Regions from separate parts of the Homo sapiens genome. Here regions 1, 2, 3, 4 and 6 are each linked to region 5. Evidence: promoter capture Hi-C in 16 types of primary human blood cells and fetal thymus (Javierre and others, 2016). All regions are on one chromosome and are shown on one strand. Each heading gives the region's core, a stretch centred on a gene start or on the middle of the fragment in contact. The rest is flanking DNA. Distances are from core to core; before and after follow the strand shown.

Evidence for each region. Contacts are between HindIII fragments. The CHiCAGO score rates a contact against its expected background, and 5 or more counts as called.
Region 1: a fragment that was not itself captured here is called in contact with the fragment with the promoter of DNAJC13 in region 5 in 1 of 17 cell types (M0 macrophages); the score reaches 6.0 in M0 macrophages.
Region 2: a fragment that was not itself captured here is called in contact with the fragment with the promoter of DNAJC13 in region 5 in 1 of 17 cell types (non-activated CD4 T cells); the score reaches 5.4 in non-activated CD4 T cells.
Region 3: a fragment that was not itself captured here is called in contact with the fragment with the promoter of DNAJC13 in region 5 in 1 of 17 cell types (fetal thymus); the score reaches 5.1 in fetal thymus.
Region 4: a contact is called between the fragment with the promoter of NUDT16 here and the fragment with the promoter of DNAJC13 in region 5, in 2 of 17 cell types (total B cells and activated CD4 T cells). The highest score is 8.3, in total B cells.
Region 6: a contact is called between a fragment that was not itself captured here and the fragment with the promoter of DNAJC13 in region 5, in 1 of 17 cell types (fetal thymus). The highest score is 5.4, in fetal thymus.

Annotation. Positions count from the first base shown.
Region 1 is chr3:133,543,403-133,546,708 of GRCh38, forward strand. It overlaps the pseudogene FAM76AP1. Among named protein-coding and RNA genes, the nearest start is that of CDV3, 29 kb to the right of the region's middle. The HindIII fragment of the contact is 5,393 bases long and covers 1-3,306 here.
Region 2 is chr3:133,494,873-133,497,730 of GRCh38, forward strand. No RefSeq gene overlaps it. Among named protein-coding and RNA genes, the nearest start is that of BFSP2-AS1, 5.2 kb to the left of the region's middle. The HindIII fragment of the contact is 2,331 bases long and covers 295-2,625 here.
Region 3 is chr3:133,442,035-133,445,068 of GRCh38, forward strand. All of the region lies in intron 1 of BFSP2 (beaded filament structural protein 2), which reads left to right. All of the region lies in intron 2 of BFSP2-AS1 (BFSP2 antisense RNA 1), which reads right to left. Among named protein-coding and RNA genes, the nearest start is that of BFSP2, 43 kb to the left of the region's middle. RefSeq lists an enhancer at 1-203. The HindIII fragment of the contact is 3,562 bases long and covers 1-3,034 here.
Region 4 is chr3:131,380,403-131,383,293 of GRCh38, forward strand. NUDT16 (nudix hydrolase 16) reads left to right here and starts at 1,372. Exons shown (of 3, transcript NM_152395.3): 1 at 1,372-1,540; 2 at 1,644-1,913; 3 at 2,760-2,891. The coding sequence starts at 1,403. It overlaps NUDT16-DT (NUDT16 divergent transcript), which reads right to left and starts at 1,073. Exons shown (of 4, transcript NR_038976.1): 1 at 931-1,073. RefSeq lists enhancers at 681-950, 1,242-1,811, 1,812-2,380 and a silencer at 1,061-1,360. The HindIII fragment of the contact is 2,474 bases long and covers 1-1,963 here.
Region 5 is chr3:132,416,213-132,419,442 of GRCh38, forward strand. It overlaps DNAJC13 (DnaJ heat shock protein family (Hsp40) member C13), which reads left to right and starts at 1,290. Exons shown (of 56, transcript NM_015268.4): 1 at 1,290-1,548. RefSeq lists silencers at 980-1,079, 1,360-1,499 and enhancers at 1,530-1,679, 1,619-2,154. The HindIII fragment of the contact is 2,245 bases long and covers 907-3,151 here.
Region 6 is chr3:130,750,816-130,753,848 of GRCh38, forward strand. It overlaps LOC107986023 (a long non-coding RNA gene), which reads right to left. Exons shown (of 3, transcript XR_001740492.2): 3 at 488-582. Among named protein-coding and RNA genes, the nearest start is that of PIK3R4, 5.5 kb to the left of the region's middle. The HindIII fragment of the contact is 3,872 bases long and covers 1-3,033 here.

The sequences.
Region 1 (3,306 bases), core at 770-3,269, 1.1 Mb after region 5:
GCTGAAAATAACCGAAATGTATCCTCTCACAGCTCTGGAGAGTAGAAGTCCAAAATTAAGGTGTCATGGGCTTGGATCCTTCGAAGGGCTATGAGGGAGAATCTGTTCTCGGCCTCTCTCCTTGCCTCTGGTGTTTTGGTGGCGATCTTTGTTGTTCCTTGGCTTGTTGGCGCGTCACTCCAATCTCTTCATCTTCACATGGCCTTTTCCTTGTGTGCATCTCTGTCTCTGAGTCCAAACTTTCCACCCTAATGTCTTCATCTTCACTTAATCATCTGCAAGGACCCCATTTCCAAATAAGGTCACATTCACAGGCACTACGGGTTAGAACTTCAACATCTTTCAAGGGAATGCAATTCAATCCGTAACACTGAGGAGTTAGTAAAAATAGTTAATATCTATGAAATATCAGGAACTGCCGTGACAGTCATTTTATATACATTATTCTTAAATTTTCTTTTCCTTTTTTTCTTTTTTTTTTTGAGATGGAGTCTCACTCTGTCACCCAGGCTGGAGTGCAATGGCACGATCTTGTCTCAATGCAACCTCCGTGTCCCAGATTGAAGCAATTCTACCTCAGCCTCCCAACTAGCCGGGATCACAGGCATGCACCATTACACCTGGCTAATTTTTGTATTTTTAGTAGAGACAGGGTTTCACCATGTTGGCCAGGCTGATTTCGAACTCCTGACCTCAAGTGATTTGCCCACTTCAGCCTCACAAAGTGCTATGATTACAGGCATGAGCCACCACGCCCAGCCTATATACATTATTCTTAATCCTCACAAAGATGCCCTCATTTTATAGCTGTAGAAACTGAGGATAAGAAAACTTATGGGGCTTATACTAAATTACATAGCTAGAAAGTACAAGCTCTGGAATCAGATAGGCTGGCTTCACCACTTACCTGTGTGAAGCCTTGGGCAAGTTATTTTAACCTCTCTGTGCCTCAGTTTCCTCATTTGTAAAATGAGGATAATAATCATGATTCTTTCATTCATGCTGAGTTGTTGCAAGGATTTTATTTATTTATTTTTTTCTGAGTTATATTATGTGCCAGGTTCAATATTATTGTTTTATATACCTATCTGAATTACATTTCCCCATGTCTTTGTGAGACATGTCTTTGTGAGACAATAACTATTGTTATTCCCATGGAGAAAGATGAAGAAAGTGATGCATAATGCGGCCAAGTAGCCAGGGTCATTCAGCTAGCCCCAGGAGTCAGATGGGACCCAGGTTTGGGGGACTGCTGCTTGTGCTACCTCCTGATTACTAATTAAGATTCTTCAGTATCTTGATACAGGGAAGAGGTGTCCTGGTTGGCAGGCAGGAGTATCCTGGTCAATGGAAAGTTATATCCTTCCATTGTAAGTTAATGAATTTGGTAAGCAAGAGTCACCCCTTGAGCCCAAGCACCTCTTAAAAGCACCTCTGGTCACTGAAAAAGAGTTTCTCAACTGCCATCTTTTATTCAACAAATACTTATTGAGCAGCTACTATGTGCCAGGCCACTGGAAATAAAGCAGAGAATGAGATGGACAAAGAGCTCACATTCTAGTCGGGGTGGACAAACATGTAACCAAATAAGCAAGACTAGTTTTCAATATGTGAGATGCTATGAAGACAATAAAATGGTATGATAAATAATGACTAAGGGAGTCAGTAAAAGGTCACTGTGAGCAGGTGGTACCTGAGCTGAGACCTGACATGATCAGCCAGTTATGAGACTCTAGAGAAGGGTGCATTAGGCACAAGGACAGACAGTGCAAAGGTCGGAGTGAGATCTGCATGTCAGACAGACTACAGGGTGGTGGCCAGGATGGCTGGAGCAAGGTGAGAGGTAGAAAGTATGATGCAAGATGAGACTGAGAGCTGGGTATGGGCCTTGCAGGCCATAGAAGGGATTTCAGTTTTATTCTAAGCACAACTGGAAACCCGTGGAGGATTTTAAGCAAGAGAGTAATATGCCCAAACTCTAAATCATTTTGATTCTATCAAGGTCTACCCTTCCACGTAGAGCTTCCCTCTAACGTAATCTTGTAATCTTGAATTTCAACAGATAGAAACATTTAAAGAGCCAGATAGTAAAACTGGTAATGCCACTCCATCTTGCTTAAGTTACAATCTCTCCTTTACAGGATTCCACAGAATTCTGGCAATCACCATTTCACTTACGTGATGACTGTAATTCATATTCTCGTGAAATGTTAGAATATAATGGTCCACATTTTATGAATGAACAAAACAAAATATGAATATCTTCTTTAAGGTCAATAATAGAACCAGGAAAGAAACTGAGAAATCTTTCTTTGTTACATGTGTTTTTTTTTTTTTGTTTTTTTTTTTTTTGAGATGGAGTCTTGCTCTGTCACCCAGGCTGGAGTGCGTGGCATGATCTCAGCTCACTGCAACCTCTGCCTCCCGGGTTCAAGTGATTCTTCTGCCCCAGCCTCCCGAGTAGCTGGGACTACAGGCGCATGCCACCACGCCTGGCTAATTTTTTGTATTTTTAGTAGAGACGCGGTTTCACCGTGTTAGCCACGATAGTCTTGATCTCCTGACCTCATGATTCTTGCCTCGCCCTCCCAAAGTGCTGGGATTACAGGCATGAGCCACCACGCTCGGCCTATTAAATGTGTTTTTAACACAGTCCACCTTAATTTCTCGTTCCATACAACTGCACGTTCTGAGCACATTTCTTGCATATTGTATTGGTTTTACTCTCCTGCTGGTACTCAGTCCTGCAGTAGGTGCACTTCACAACAGGGTGTGCAATCCGACATTCCTTGCACAGCTGCTGCCCCTGAGACAGCACCTGGAAGGGGAAACGCTGGTGGCACTTGGTGCAGGCGTAGAGCGCCGCCATGTCCGGCCCGGGCCGCGCTCACCGACCCGCCAGCCCGGCCCGCTGATTTATCTCGTTGCAAGGATTTTAAAGATAATGCACAGAGGGCCGGGCACAGTGGCTCACGCCTGTAATCCCAGCACTTTGGGAGGCCAAGGCGGGCAGATCACGAGGTCAGGAGTTCGAGACCAGCCTAGCCAACATGGTGAAACCCCGTCTCTACTAAAAATACAAAAATTAGCTGGGCGTGATGGCGGGTGCCTATAGTCCTAACTGCTTGGGAGGCTGAGGTAGAGGAATTGCTTGAAACTGGAAGGCGGAGGTTGCAGTGAGCCAAGATCATGCCACTGCACTCCAGCCTGGGCGAAAGAGCGAAACTCCGTCTGAAAAAAAAAAAAAAAAAGGTAATGCACAGAGCCTGGTACATAGAAATTACTGAATTCATGGTAGTTGTCGTT
Region 2 (2,858 bases), core at 210-2,709, 1.1 Mb after region 5:
TCTTAATTAATTACATCTGCAACAACTCTTATTTCCAAATCAGGTCACGTTCTGACATAGTGGGGATTCAAACTTCAACATATCTTTTTTTGGAGTCACAGTTCAATCCGTCTCAACAGGGCAGTTATTTTACAAAATACTCCTCAACTTGAGTTCTGGTATTTCCTCAGGTTAGATTCAAGTTGCACACTTTCAGTTGGAATACCATAAAACTCACCAGGAGGCATGTGATATCAATATGTCCCTCTCCTGGTGATATTAATTTTGTTTACTGGGTTCAGGTGGCGTGTGCCAAGCTTCTCCACTGTAAAGTTACTGTTTTTCCATTTGTAATTAGTAAGTATCTTGTGGAAAAATATTTTTAGTCTATTTTGAGTAAATATTGTTATTCCTCAAACTTTCTGTCCCAGAAGTTTTAGTTTTAGCATCAATTGATGATTCCTGCCCACGTCAATTATTACTTATTATGGTTGCCAAATGGTGATTTTCAAATTCCATCATTTCTTCTACATTTTTTAGTTGGCTTTCTTCTATAAGAAAAAATGTTCTGGCCGGGCACGGTGGCTCGCGCCTGTAATCCCAGCACTTTGAGAGGCCAAGGCAGGAGGATCACCTGAGGTCGGGAGTTCAAGACCAGCTTGATCAACATAGAGAAACGCTGTCTCTACTAAAAATACAAAATTAGCTGGGCGTGGTGGCACATGCCTGTAATCCCAGCTACTCGGGAGGCTGAGGCAGGAGAATTGCTTGAACCTGGGAGGCGGAGGTTGTGGTGAGCCAATATTGCACCATTGCACTCCAGCCTAGGCAACAAGAGCGAAACTCCATCTCAAAAAAAAAGAAAGAAAGAAAGAAAGAATGTTCCTTTCTTCCCTATTGTGTGTGTGTGTGTGTGTGTGTGTGTGTGTGTGTGTGTGGTGTGTGTGTGTTTATATCAGCATGAACACATGGAGGGGCTGCAAGTTTTGAGCAGGGCCTAGAGCAAAAAGGCATCTGTAGCAAGCTGAGGTGTGGAGCCAGCTGCCTGCCACTGCACCTATGACCAGCATGCCCAATAATTGTGGAAGTATCTGTTGCAGACAAAGGTAACATATAGAACCCTTGGCACGCCACAGTAGGAGAATAACAGTCATAGGATATTTGAGAAAGGCTATGTCCACCACTGTTGTCAGTTAGTCTCCACTAAAAAGCAACTCCTGACTTCCTCCTGAAACCTCATGGACTGAGCACTTGGCTTCAGGACCTACTCTGTACCTGGGCTATGTGAATGGGTGCTCCTCCTGCTGAACACCAGTGTATTCCAGCAATAGGGAGCACCAGCAGGAGAATGAGGGACGAAAGAGAGTGAGGTCAGTGTATTTATTGCCCTGCCCCTCCCTGCAGCATCACCACAGGCCAGTTCTGATGATGAATTGAGGAAAAAATATCACTCCTATGATATTTTTACCAAAAATGCGTAATCCAAATCTAATCCTGAGAAAACATCAGACAAGCTCAAATGGAGGCACAGTCTACAAAATCATTGGCCTGTACAACCCAAAAAACATCAAGTTTATAAAAGACAAGGGAAGACTGAGGAACTGTGCAGATTAAAGAAAACTAAAGAAACCTGACAACTAAATGCAACCCATGAACCTGGATTGTATCCTGGACCAGAAAATTGTTTTCTTTTGTTACAAAGGACACATTTTGGACAACTGATGGAATTTAAATAAAGTCTGTAAGTTAGATAATAATATTGTATCAATGTTTATTTCCTAATTTTCTTATAACTGTATAAAAGATTAGGTTCATGCTATACATGCTGTTTTTGTTCTTTTGTTGTTGTTGTTTTTGATTTTGTTTTTTTTTTTTTTTCTGAGACAGGGTCTTGCTCTGTCACCCAGGCTGGAGTGCAGCGGGTGCAGCGGTGCAATTTCAGCTCACTGCAGCCTTGACCTCCCCAGCTCAATCAATTAGCCCTCCCATCTCAGATTCTCAAGTAGGGACTACAGGTATGTACCACCACACCAGGCTAATTTTTTTTTTTTTTTTGTAGAGGTGGGGTTTCACCATGTTGCCCAGGCTGGTCTCAAACTCCTGTGTTTAAGCGATCCACCCGCCTCGGCCCCACAAAGTGCTGGGGTTACAGGTTTGAACCACCACACCAGGCCTTAAATTTTAAATAGAGACGGAGTCTTACTATGTTGCCCAGGCTAGTCTTGAAGTCCTGGGCTCAAACAATCCTTCCACCTCAGCCTCCCAAAGTTCTGAGATTATGGAAGTGAGCCACCATACCCAACTTATGCTGCTTTTTAAGAAAACTGAGTTTTTAGTTTAATTTCACTTGAACTTAACACAAGAAAAAATGAAATTAAATTGAAAGAAATGTTAGACTTTTAACACATTTTTTTCACCTTAGGAAATATTCGTTGTTATAGGATTCTTCTGTTTCTATAGGTTTAAAAAAATGAAAGCTGTTAAGAGGTTGGAATGTTATACATTACTTTTAAGTGCATGTTTCATTTTTACATAGTATCAATTCTCTCTATACTATAAAACATGTAATTATTGGCATAGGTATATTTCTTCCTTTTCCCTTCTCTTTCACTCTTGTTTGTTGCTCATATCATTTCTACTTTATCAAGCTTTATAGTCTGGGCACGGTGGCTCACACCTGTAATCTCAGCACTTTGGGAGGCTGAGGTGGGCAGATCACTTGAGGTCAGGAATTCAAGACCAGCCCGGCCAACCTGGTGAAACCCCATCTCTACTAAAAGTACAATAATCAGCCGTGCCTGGCTGATTAGCATCATTCTTAATCAATTTTTCCAAATGAATGCTATGTTTTATCTGCCTGAAAATTCTCTTCTTTTTTC
Region 3 (3,034 bases), core at 308-2,807, 1.0 Mb after region 5:
TGGAAGAGTAACAAGCATGCAGGGCCTTGAAGGCCACTTCAGAAGACTGGGTTTTACTCTAAGTATAAGAGACACTTCTATAGAGTTTTGTTTTGTTTTGTGTGTTGTTTTTGTTCTGAGATGGGCTTTCACTTTCACTCTGTCTCTCAGGCTGGAGTGCAGTGGTGCAATCATAGCTCACTGCAGCCTCGACCTCCTGGCCTCAAGAGATCCTCCCACATCAGTCTCCCAAGTAGCTGGACTGTGGGTGCACATCATGACACCTGGATAAATTCTGTTTTTTTGTTTTGTTTTGTTTTTTGGAGAGATAGGGTTTTGCTATGTTGCCCAGGCTGGTCTCAAACTTCTAGGCTCAAGCAATCCACCCACCCTGTCCTCCCAAAGTGCTGGGCTTATAGGCGTGAACCACCACACCTAGCCCCTCTGAAGAGTTTTAATTTAGTTTAATCAGAGTGACATGATATGATTTTAAGAGTTTAAAAAGCCCACTCTGGAAGCAGGATGCAGAATGCATTGGAGGAGGGAGGTACAGATCAGGGAGTTGGAAGGATATTACAATGGGATATTATAATGGGATAGGAGAGCATGATGGGGACTTGCACTAGGGTGATGTCAAGAGAGGTAGAGAGAAATAAATGGATTTGAGATACATTGTGGGGGTAGAATTGACTAGACTCAGTGATAAATGAGATGTGGGAGATGACAGAAAGTGAGAGATCAAGATGATCCCTTGGTTTCCGGGTAGACATTGGGGTTGTTTACTGAGATGAAGAGGATCAAGGGGTGGTGGGGAAAGGGAAGATTTGTGGGGAAATTATCTAGATTTTCTTTTTTTTTTTTTTAATGGATTTTCACTCTTGTTGCCCAGGCTGGAGTGCAGTGGTGCGATCTCAGCTCACTGCTACCTCTGCCTCCTGGGTTCAAGCCATGATCCTGCCTCAGCCTCCTAAATAGCTGGAATTACAGGTGCGTGCAACCACGCCCAGCTAATTTTTTGTATTTTTAGTAGAGGCAGGGGTTTCACTATGTTGGCCAGGCTGGTCTGGAACAACTGACCTCAGGTAATCCACCCACCTCAGCCTCCCAAAGTGCTGGGATTCCAGGCGTGAGCCACCGCACCCGGCCAAAATTATCTAGATTTTCATTCGGGGACATGTTAAGTTTGAGATGTCTGAGAAATAGCCAAGTGAAGACCTCAAAGAGAGGGTGAGTATGCAAGTGTGGAGCTGAGCAGAAAGTTCTGAGATAGACATTTAAATGTGAAAGTCATTAGCACATACAATGCCATTTAAATCTGTGTGGATAGATCAGACCATTTAGTGATTAAAAAAAAGAAGCACCAAGACCCAATCTTGAAAAACTTTAACATTTAGAGGTCAGATAAGGAAGAAAAACCTGGTGAAGCAGAGAATAATAAGAAAGAATGGTCAATGAAGTAGGAGGAAGTCCAGAGAGAGTGGTGTCATGGAAGCCGAGACAGAAAAGTACATCTGTGACAAATGCAACCAGCAGGTCAATATGAGCACAGAGAAGCATCTGCCGGGCTTGGTAATACGGTGGCCTTGTTATTAAGAGCAGTATCACTGGGGTGCTAGGGACTGAGAATTATTTCTCATTCCTTTATTGCTAGAAGCAAGTTATGCTGAACATCCATCCTAAACTTGAAAGTCAAATAAATGTGGGAAGGGTTTCCAAGGGAATCTTGCATCTTGCCACTGCACCAGCTGAGTTTAATTTCCCAGGAGCTCAGTCTTACCCACCTCCTCCCCACACCTGCAGCTCTAGCTGCCAGAATGCCAATATCTTTACTCCAAACAAACCATTCATTGTACCCTTGGGCCCAAATGATAACCTTTTTTAAAACGCTGCTTGTATTTGCCTTTCCTTTAACACAATGATGGTCAAATCTCTCATCCACCACCACCAGCTCATTTATTTTAATAACTACATCCGCAGTGAAAACAGGAGTAGTATTATAGAAAGAGATAAAGTCCTCACCATCATGGTACAAATGACTAGGACTTTTCAGATGACTATGGACAGGAAAAACAAAGGAAAAAAATATATATGTATATATATACATATATATATATCAAGCCACTAGATGGAAGTCTTCATTCAACTGCCTGTGCACTTCAGAAAAGTAAAGCAGGATCAGTGCCAGACTGCACAAACCCATCAAATTCATTCGACATTCATTGAACAACTGCTTTGTACAAAGACAAATAACAATGATGATAATGGCTACCGTTCATGCAATATTTACTCTGTGCCAGGCAATCTGCTGAGTCACACATACGCTGAGTCTCACACACCTTGGCTCATTTAATTCTCCCAGGAGGAAGGGAGTATTATTATCTTCATTTTATGGGGGAGGAAACCAAATCTTAGAATTACTTACTCTAAGCAACTGACCCATGCTTGTGAATGGAGGAGCCAGTTTCCAGAATAAGAAAACACTGTCGTTGTCTACAAAGTATTTATACTAAATGTGGTAAGAGAGGGATAATGTGCCACAGGGGTGGGCTGTGACTCAGATGCAGGAACCAGCCAATGAGGGAGGAAGAGAATCAGCAAAGGCCCCACCATGCTCTCTACAGCTCAGGATGAAACGGAGCGGTCACCCCTAATTGTTTTCCCTCACTCTCCCCATAACTACTGCACCACAAAGAACCGACTGTTCTATCCCCCAAATGCATCTTAAACTAGTCCACATTTTTCCACCTACCCTATGATCACATCGTTCGTCCAGGCCACCATCATTAATAAAATGGGCTCCCTGGACCACCGCAAGAGCCTCCCGACTGGTTCTTTGGCATCTTCTCCTGCCTCCTCCAATCCTCTCTTCCCACAGTAGTCAGAGGGTCCACTTAGTGCACAGATCACCTCTGTAACCTGCTCAAGCCCTTTCAAAGGCTTCCCAGTAAATCTCAACTCCTTTCCATTGTGCCCAAGGCCTTCCCTCTATGGTCTGGTCTTGTCTACCTTTTTAACCTCATCTCCTACAGTAGCGGCTGGTTTCTCAACAAACAGG
Region 4 (2,891 bases), core at 122-2,621, 1.0 Mb before region 5:
CCACTTAACAGATGAGCTGCTGGGATCTGAGAGAGTTAAGTGACTTGTTAAGGTCACAAACCTGTTTCTGGGTGGGTCCGGACTCTTTCCCACCATATGCCGTCACTTACAGGCTGTGAGTTTATGCCCAGCCCCCCTCAAGGAGCTGCCTCCTGCTTTCTATTGCATAATCAATATCGACACCTGGTGTAGGGGCGCTCTGCAGGGTGGGGAAGGCCTGGCCTGGAGTGAGGGATCCTGCATCTCAGCATCAGGCCCTGAGTAGGCCTCTGCCCTTGTGGTAGGGTAACCCACCCTCCTTCATAGCTCAGAGGTCTGAGGGGGTTTGAGGGAAAGACTAGAAAGCCTAGGAGGCTTCTTCTATCTCTCACCCCTCCTCACTCCCAGTCCTGTGCCACAGGATTTCACTCACAGCTCCTTCCACCCCCACCCTTCCCCTGAAAATCTCACTGCCCTGTGACTTCTCTATGTGCCACTCCCTGTGCGTCAGACCCCCACGATCAGCTGCCCACTGCCTATGGCCACCCCAATTCCTTAGAACTACACTTATCACTGCTCACCCTTCTCCTACTCTCCCCCTCTCAGAAAATGACACCACATCCAGGAAACTCGGAACCACCACTAGCCCAGCGCTCCCTCTTCCCCATTCACTCAGTCACCAAGTCCCCTCAATTTCACCACTCAAGATAGTTGTCAGACCATGGCGCCTGTCCATCTCCATTTCCCTAGGATAGGCCTTGGTGTCTGAGGCCAACCCTGCCTCATTTCCTCCTAACCCCCACCCAGGCCTTGTGCTTTGTGTACCACCACACCCAACCAAAGGTAGTTATTACTTCTTTGGCTCCCAGCACTCAACTGAGCGCCCCAGCTCTTCCTCACCTGCCGGGACACTCCAGCTGACTCCAGATTGCGACGCAGGCGTTTACGTACCAGCCTTTCTCCAGGTTCAGGGCGCTGCCACATCTTCAGCCCCGACCCGCCGCAAGTCTCATTTCCTCCTAACCCCAACCCAGGCCTTGTGCTTTGTGTACCACCGAACCCAACCAAAGCTAGTTCCCTGACTTGCTCTTTTGGCTCCCAGGAGCCTTTAGGTACCGGCCTTGCGCCAGGTTTAGGGCGCGGCCACACCTCTAGCCCCGCCCCACCGCAGGCCCAACCCAGAGGCTGCTTTCGGTTACCCTAGGGTTCCTGGGCCCTGGACTTCAACCCGGTCTGCAAGCCCCGCCCTGATTAGCTGCCTCCCGCACCGGTCGCGGCGCCCCGCCCCCAGGCGCCTAGGTTCCTCCCCTTATCCCTGCAGGGATTGGGCCTTGCAGCACCGCCCAGGCTCGGATTGGTCCGAGGTGAGACCCGCCCCTCTGCCCATTGGGCCTTCGGGACAGCAGAGGAGCAGTGTCCGGCCATGGCCGGAGCCCGCAGGCTGGAGCTAGGCGAGGCCCTGGCGCTGGGGTCGGGCTGGCGTCATGCGTGCCACGCTCTCCTCTACGCGCCGGACCCTGGGATGCTCTTCGGCCGCATCCCGCTGCGCTACGCCATACTGGTGAGAAGGGGGCGCGCCCGGCCACTTTCTGCCTGAGCCCCGCACCCTCTCTGGTGGTCTCCTCTGGGGCGCCCCTGCCAATCCCCGCTTCCCCCTCCCGCAGATGCAGATGCGCTTCGATGGACGCCTGGGCTTCCCCGGCGGATTCGTGGACACGCAGGACAGAAGCCTAGAGGACGGGCTGAACCGCGAGCTGCGCGAGGAGCTGGGCGAAGCGGCTGCCGCTTTCCGCGTGGAGCGCACTGACTACCGCAGCTCCCACGTCGGGTCAGGGCCACGCGTTGTGGCCCACTTCTATGCCAAGCGTCTGACGCTCGAGGAGCTGTTGGCTGTGGAGGCCGGCGCAACACGCGCCAAGGACCACGGGCTGGAGGTGGGACCAGCCTGGGACTCTGTCCCTTTCCCAATTTCCTCTTCTCCCAAAGCTTTCTCTCCCCCAAGAAAGCATCCCTGGAGAAAAGTCTTTGCCCCTCTGACCTTGCCCTCTCCCCAGCTTTCTTGGTGGAGTTGGGATCGTGATCATCTATACTCTGAATTAGTACTGCCAACCTGGGCTTTCTGTAAAGGTCTTTCCCACCCTTTACCAGGAGAGATCCTTTCTAGAACACACTCATCCATGTCTCTCTGCTGTTCCCTATTGACAGTGTGATAGATTATCACATTATCTAGGTGTGGCAACCTAGGTTTTATTCTTGGGGTTTGCTTTTCTTGTGTAGGAGATGTGGCCCTGATATTTCAGGCAGGGCTAGTAGATAGATTATGTATGAAGGTGGTTCTCAAAATTTGGCAGGTAGCAGAATCATCGGGGCGTCTTATTAAAATAGCGATTTCTCTCAGCATTCCTGCATTGGTGGTGGGGCGGGGGGAGAGGAAACCTGAGAATTTGTAGTTTTCAAAAGTTCCCAAATAATGCTGATGCAAATAATCTGAGGACCACATTTTGACAACCACTGGTGAAAGGGTATGAATACATCTTTGAGGCAGTAGCCACTAGAGGTTTAGAAGCAGATGTGGGAAAGATTAATTGATAGAGCTAGATAATATGTTTTGGGTCATTTTCCTGCAGAAGGTTGGGCCACTAGGCTTTAGTGAGGTGTGAGCCTTGGGCCTGGTTCTGCTGGAGTATTAAGGGGTGAGGCCTGATCTGCTGGAGAAAGGATGGAGTTAAGGGAATGAGCCACCTGGGGCCCTAGTGTCTCCTGTCTCCTTCCTTTTACAGGTGCTGGGCCTGGTGCGAGTGCCCCTGTATACCCTGCGGGATGGTGTAGGAGGCCTGCCTACCTTCCTGGAGAATTCCTTTATTGGCTCTGCGCGGGAGCAGTTACTTGAAGCTCTCCAGGACTTGGGACTG
Region 5 (3,230 bases), core at 40-2,539:
ATAGTCTTTTTCCGCCCTAAGGTAGGGCAAAGGGTTAATAGAATCAAGAGGTAAAGTCTGTAAAAACCATTTTTCCACATTTTTTCATCCTGCAATCGCTGTCTATAAAATGAGCCAACTTGCTGAAGGGGACGCCAAGAAATCACAATTTCAGGACTGCCATGAAGAATGAGTATTCAACTCCTTATCAGAGACCTTTAACCCTTATACAATAATGTATCCATGCAGGTCACCCTACACTGCCTCTACTCTGAAGTCTGCAGCAGAATCACTATTTTTTTTTTAATCACTAATTTTTAAACTGTGGTCTTTACGGCTCAGATCTGGGAGTGGACATTGACCTTTCTTATTTAAACCATTGCCCACAGATAACACATAATTTCTAGCCGAATCCTTTAGTCCCAATATCCCCTCTTTTCACTGCCCTGACTTCCCTCTCAGGTGAGGTTCAGGAAGATGGTTATCTAGAGGGCACAGGTTCTGGGTTCAAATTACTTGGGTGCAAACATGAAATCCACTACTCTGAGGCTGGGCCTCAACTTATCTGCAAAACGAGGATGATTCGTATCTCAGAGAGTTGAAGATTAAGCAGCTTTAAGTAAACTTCTAAACACTTGATCCGGACACAATAAATGGGGCTACCAGAACTATCTTTCCAGCATTCCCACCTGCAAATGCCTTAGGCGTCTCTGAGAATTTGGTCTCTGAGACCTTCCAGAGCATCCATAACTTAAACCCTGCTCTGCTGTCGTTCAGGACGTCTCAATAGTAAATGAACCTGCTGGCTCCCAATCCAGCCAAACCAGGAGATAGGCTGAGGCTTCAGACTGCCTCGCAGATGCTCCATGGCACTTGACGGCAAGAGCTAAAAAGAGGTGATTTAAAACAAGATTTCCTCGGACTTAAAGCTTAAGTACCGGGTTGCGACCCTACTCTCCGCAGGACATAAGCGGAGGGGCGCGGCCCTAAGGCACACGCCGGAGGGGCGTGGTCATGGGCACCCGCCGGAGGGGCGTGGTCATGGGCACCCGCGCGCGCCCAGGGGCGTGTCCTTTTCAGCACCCACCGAGGCGCCAGCCCCCTGACGCGCTGCGTGGAATCCAAATCCCACGGCCGGTGTCGTTACTCTGCGCATGTGTAGCTGCTGGGGGCTGGCCGGAGGAAAGCAGAATTTCAGGGAAAGAACGATCGGGACGGGGAGGACGGGGAGGGCGGGGCAGAAGACGGAAGAGTTGAAATCAGCTGACTGGGTCTCGTGACAGCCTGGGCGGTGGCGACGCAGGCGTATTAGAGCGCGCTCGCTCAAAGCCTGAGCGAAGATGGCGGCCTCCAGAGTGAAACTCTGAGAGGCAGAGGGAGGAGGCGGAGGGGGCGGGGAGGCAGCGCCGCGGCGGCACCAGGAACCCGCGGCAGCGGAGCTGCAGGGCCCCGGCGGGGGAAAGGGGAAGTGGTGAGGGTGAGGAGGCCGGAGGGCGCCTCATCCCACTCTGGAAGCTGAGCCGGCGGCGGGAGGAGCTAGGGCTGGAGCCTCTCCAGCCTCCCGCGAAGGTAAAGCCGACTCCGGGCACTGGGCTCTGGGGCTCTGCCTTACTCCCTTCCCACGCCGTGGGGACTTTGTGGGGCTCAGGGCAGGGAAAACGGGGTGGTCTTGGCTGCTGCAGCCTGCAGCTGCTAAGGAAGCAGATTACCCTTCCCCCAGGCTGCTGGTCTGGTTCCTTTCGTTGGACGCCCCCCCGGCTTTGAGTGACATTAGCTCAGGGCGCTGCCCTGTCCAGCCCCACCCCTTTTTTTTGCTTGTTTTATACCTAGTACGCTCCTCCACTCGCCTTAACATATCCTTACCCCACAGGCTCTTCATTCCCTTGTGGGTTCCGCCCTCGGGATTCCCTTCCAGTCTCCTAGTCTGAGCACCCTTCCTGCTGGATGCCGGCAACTCTTGTTTCCTTGGGTCAGCGACCCTCCTTCCGAACAAGTCCTGCAGACTGACTTTCTTTGCTTTGTTTCGTTTTGTTAGGAAATGAGCATCCGCGTCGTCTGTTCTCCAGTACTTTTTCTAAAATCATTTTCTCCCCTAAGGCTTTTCCTTCCTGCAAGGCAGCTTATTCACGTGGCCTTTCCTCCGCTGCTGTGATTTTATCTTTGAATGTGGCCTTTGGAGTGGGTAAAGTAGGACTTAGACGCTCAGTGAAGTGGCTGTTAATCACTTGATACTTAACTATGTTTAAGAGTGCCTTCCCTTAAATTTTCTCCTTTTGTAGCGTGTTCCGTTAACCACGTTTGTCTTAAGATTGTTTCCTGTGTCCGTTGCTTAGAGGGGGGAAAAAAGTAAAGATTTCACCCTAATGTGGCGGTGGTCTCCCAAAGTAATTATTTCTCATTTTCCCTCTGCTTTTCCCTTTTACGTTATTCTGATTTCCCTCAAAAAGGAGGTTCTGTACCTGATGCTGTTGCGTCCTCTATGAAGGGCTTTATAGTGTACAGTTATGTTGAGCCTTTTGTAATACAGTGTCTTGGGGAAAAAAGTAGAAGTTCAGAACCTGCCCCCAGTAATTCTTTCTTACTATATTTTCTTTCTCAGTTTATGGACTTGATAGGTTTCTAGGTTTGAAACTACTGCCTGCAGGGAAAATTACAGTGATAAGGTTTTATAATATATTACCAGTACTTTGAGTTTATGGGAGTATGAAACAGAATTTGCCTTAAAAAAATAAATTTATAGAAACCACTTGTCAGAAATTCGGTATCCAGAACACAGTTCTTTGATTTTTGGAAAGTACTTTATTGGCTTATCTATCATATAACGTAAAACCTTGTTCACATTTTGTGTAATGTGAAACGCTTTTTAAGCTACTATATCTCAGACTTGGCTTGTGCTGTTAGTATCACAATGCATTCAGGCAACACACGTCCTTGTGTAGAAATTATTACATTATACTCCTTGTTTGAAAACAGGAAGTAGAACATATTAAGGGAGGAAAAGAGGAGTCAGAGGATTATTAAGAAATAAGAATGTAAAGAACCTTAAGGCTAGAGTTCAGTTCATGGAAAATATCAGCATTTGTATTCCACTGAGAGGCAATGAATATTCCTCTTTTTCTAAAGTGGTAGTAATAAATAGTCTAAAATATATTAATGTTATATATTGTTAACAAGCTTAGTTGTAAACAAAATACTTAAGCTAAAAAATAAAATATTAATAAGTGAATGAATTGTTTGGAATAATTTAACTT
Region 6 (3,033 bases), core at 275-2,774, 1.7 Mb before region 5:
CAAACACTAGACCATCCTCTAGCCAGTGTCCTTGCAGCTGCATTTTGGCAGTGATGGCTAACTGTCCCCTTCCACAGAAAATAGATGTTTCTGGGAAGTGCCTGAACTATAGGAACCATATTTTTCAGTCCCACGCCACTGTTTGCATCTAAGTGGAGCCATTTTACTAGCTTTCACTATGAAGTTCAGGTGGAAATTTTGTGTTTCATTTCTAGTACACAATAGTTAAGAGGTGAATGATTTCCACTTTCTTTCCTCTTTAACCTGGTTGCAGAAGACTTAAAGGCCCTAGTTAATGCCAGAGCCACAAGATGATAGGAGCCTGTGTCCCCGAATCACAGCCTGGAGAAAGACCCTTGCTTAGCAGGCACACTCACATAGAACTTTTACATACGCAAAAGTATACCCCATTATAAGCCAGCAAAATCTCATAATTTATTAATTATAGCAGTTAGCCTTGCCTTTATAAATACATTCATCTGCCTGATCTCTGTTCATTTCCTCCCTCTCCTGGGCTGCTTACTCCACCAGTGCACTTGCAGTCCTGTGAGATGTCCACGTGAGCTCTGCTATCCTTGCATCCTAAGGGAAAAAATAAGGCAAGGGGGAAGGATCCCTAATGTAAACAGCTCCTTCAAGTTAATAGTAAATATTTTATCTTCTTATACAAGAATGCCAGCTAATACATGCAAAATAAATTATAAGAAATTACCATTTTGTAACCTGCAGTGCAATAATTGATTTCTACATGGATTGTCAATGGGTTCTAAAATCACTGGGTAAAAGTTGTAGAACAACAAGATAGTCTCATGGTACCCAAGGAATACCTACAGATTATTTTCTATGTTAAAAAGGAATGAAAATGAACTTTTTATAGTGGAAAACCTTTTCATAACCCCTTTATCCAAGTGATCAAAGTTAGTATCATTAATAGTAGGACACAGATATTATGAGGCTCCTGATATAATGCAATGGGAAATATATACTGTCACCCAGGAAGCATTCTTGCCAAGAATATTTTTGGTTTTTTTCTTTTCTTTCTTTTTTTTTTTTTTTTTTTTTTTTTTGGACAGTCTTGCTCTGTTGCCCAGGCTGGAGTGCAGTAACATGATCTCAAGCTCACTGTAACTTTTGCCTCCCGGGTTCAAGCAATTATTGTGCCTCAGCCTCCCAAGTAGCTGGGATTACAGGTGCATGCCACCATGCCTGGCTGATTTTTGTATTTTTAGTAGAGATGGGGGTTACACCATGTTGACCAGACTGGTCTTGAACTCCTGATCTCAAGTGATCCACCCACCTCAGCCTCCCAAAGTGCTAGGACTACAGGTGTGAGTCACCTCACCCGGCTGCCAAGAATGTGTAACCTGAATTCAATCAAGCCCCTAGACCTCACTGCTCAATATGATAGCCACTAGTTACATTTGACTATTGAGTTCTTGAAATATGGCTACTACAAATTGAGATGTGCTATTAGTACAGAAAACATACAGATTTTAGAGAACTTAGTACAAAAAAATGAAAAAATCTCAATATATTTTTGATAAGTATTATATGTTGGAATCATATTTTAGATATATTGGGTTAAGGAAATATTTAATTAAAATGAATCTTTCTTTTTACTTTTTTTTTTGAAACGGAGCCTCGCTTTGTCGCCCAGGCTGGAGTGCAGTAGTGGGATCTTGGCTCACTGCAAGCTCCGCTCCTGGGTTCACGCCATTCTCCTGCCTCAGCTGGAGCTACAGGTGCCCGCCACCACACCCGGCTAATTTTTTGTATTTTTAGTAGGGACGGGGTTTCACCATGTTAGCCAGGATAGCCTCGATCTCCTGACCTCATGATCCGCCCACTTTGGCCTCCCAAAGTGCTGGGATTACAGGTGTGAGCCACCGCTCCCGGCCTCTTTTTACTTTTTAAAATGTGATTACTAATTTAAAATTACATATGTGGCTTATGTTATGTTTTTATTAGACAACCCCACTCTAGAACCAATTTCCAGCCTATAAAAAATAAAAGGAATAGAAAAATTAATTTAGCAATACCATCAGGAAACAATCAGACAGATCCAGAAAATGGAATATTAGCCTGGATTCTTCAAAGAGTCAATACCATGAAAAATATGGATGGACTTTTCTAAATTAAAAGATTCTAAAGAGACATGAAATTTAAATGCAATGTGTGAGCTTCAACTGGATCCAGGATTAGAAACAGCTACAAAAAACATTTCATGCATAATTGAAGAAATGTGAATATAGATTGAATATTTCAGAGAGAAACAAAGTGGCAGAAATGTTTTTAAAAGTTGGTAATTATTTCATTGCTATCACTTCTCTGGGTCTTATTTAAAAACACCTAAGCTGCCTGGCCTAAAGCTCTTTCACCATTACATATGAAAAAATTGGCAGACAAAGGATAGGGAGAACTAGATTCCAATTTTCTTGGAATGTATAATCTTGGGTAAAACTGTTCTTGAATAAATGGAAATGAAAGGGCTAACGTTTTTTAAAGAAGATGATTAGTCAAAAAAATCAAAGGATTTCATTGATAATAAGTGTTATGGAGAAAAAGTACAGGGTCCACGAGAATATATAATAAGGGGCAGTCAGGGAAGACATGCCCATGATATGGGCATTTAATCTGGAATGTAAGAGATGAACAGGTTTTGGCTAAATAAAGAACAATGGGAATAGTGTTGTAAGCGAAAGGAAGAGTAAAGGTAAAGGACTAGCAGTGGGGAGAAGTTTGACAAGTTAGGAACAAAGAGTAGGCCACTGTGGGGGATTGAAGGGGCAGTGAGTGAGATGCTGGCTGCAGAGGAGGAGGTGGGCAAACAGAATACATATATCCAAGCCATTCCTCTATCTTCCACTATTATCCACTTCTAATCCTTCACCACTTCTCTTCCACAAAAGATTTGAAGTGATTTTACAAAATTAACTCAAATAAAAGGATGAAAAAATAAATAATAAATATTCATTCAAAAGGAGCAGAGAAATAGTACTTGGAATTAATAAATTAAACTTCAGTTAAATTTGG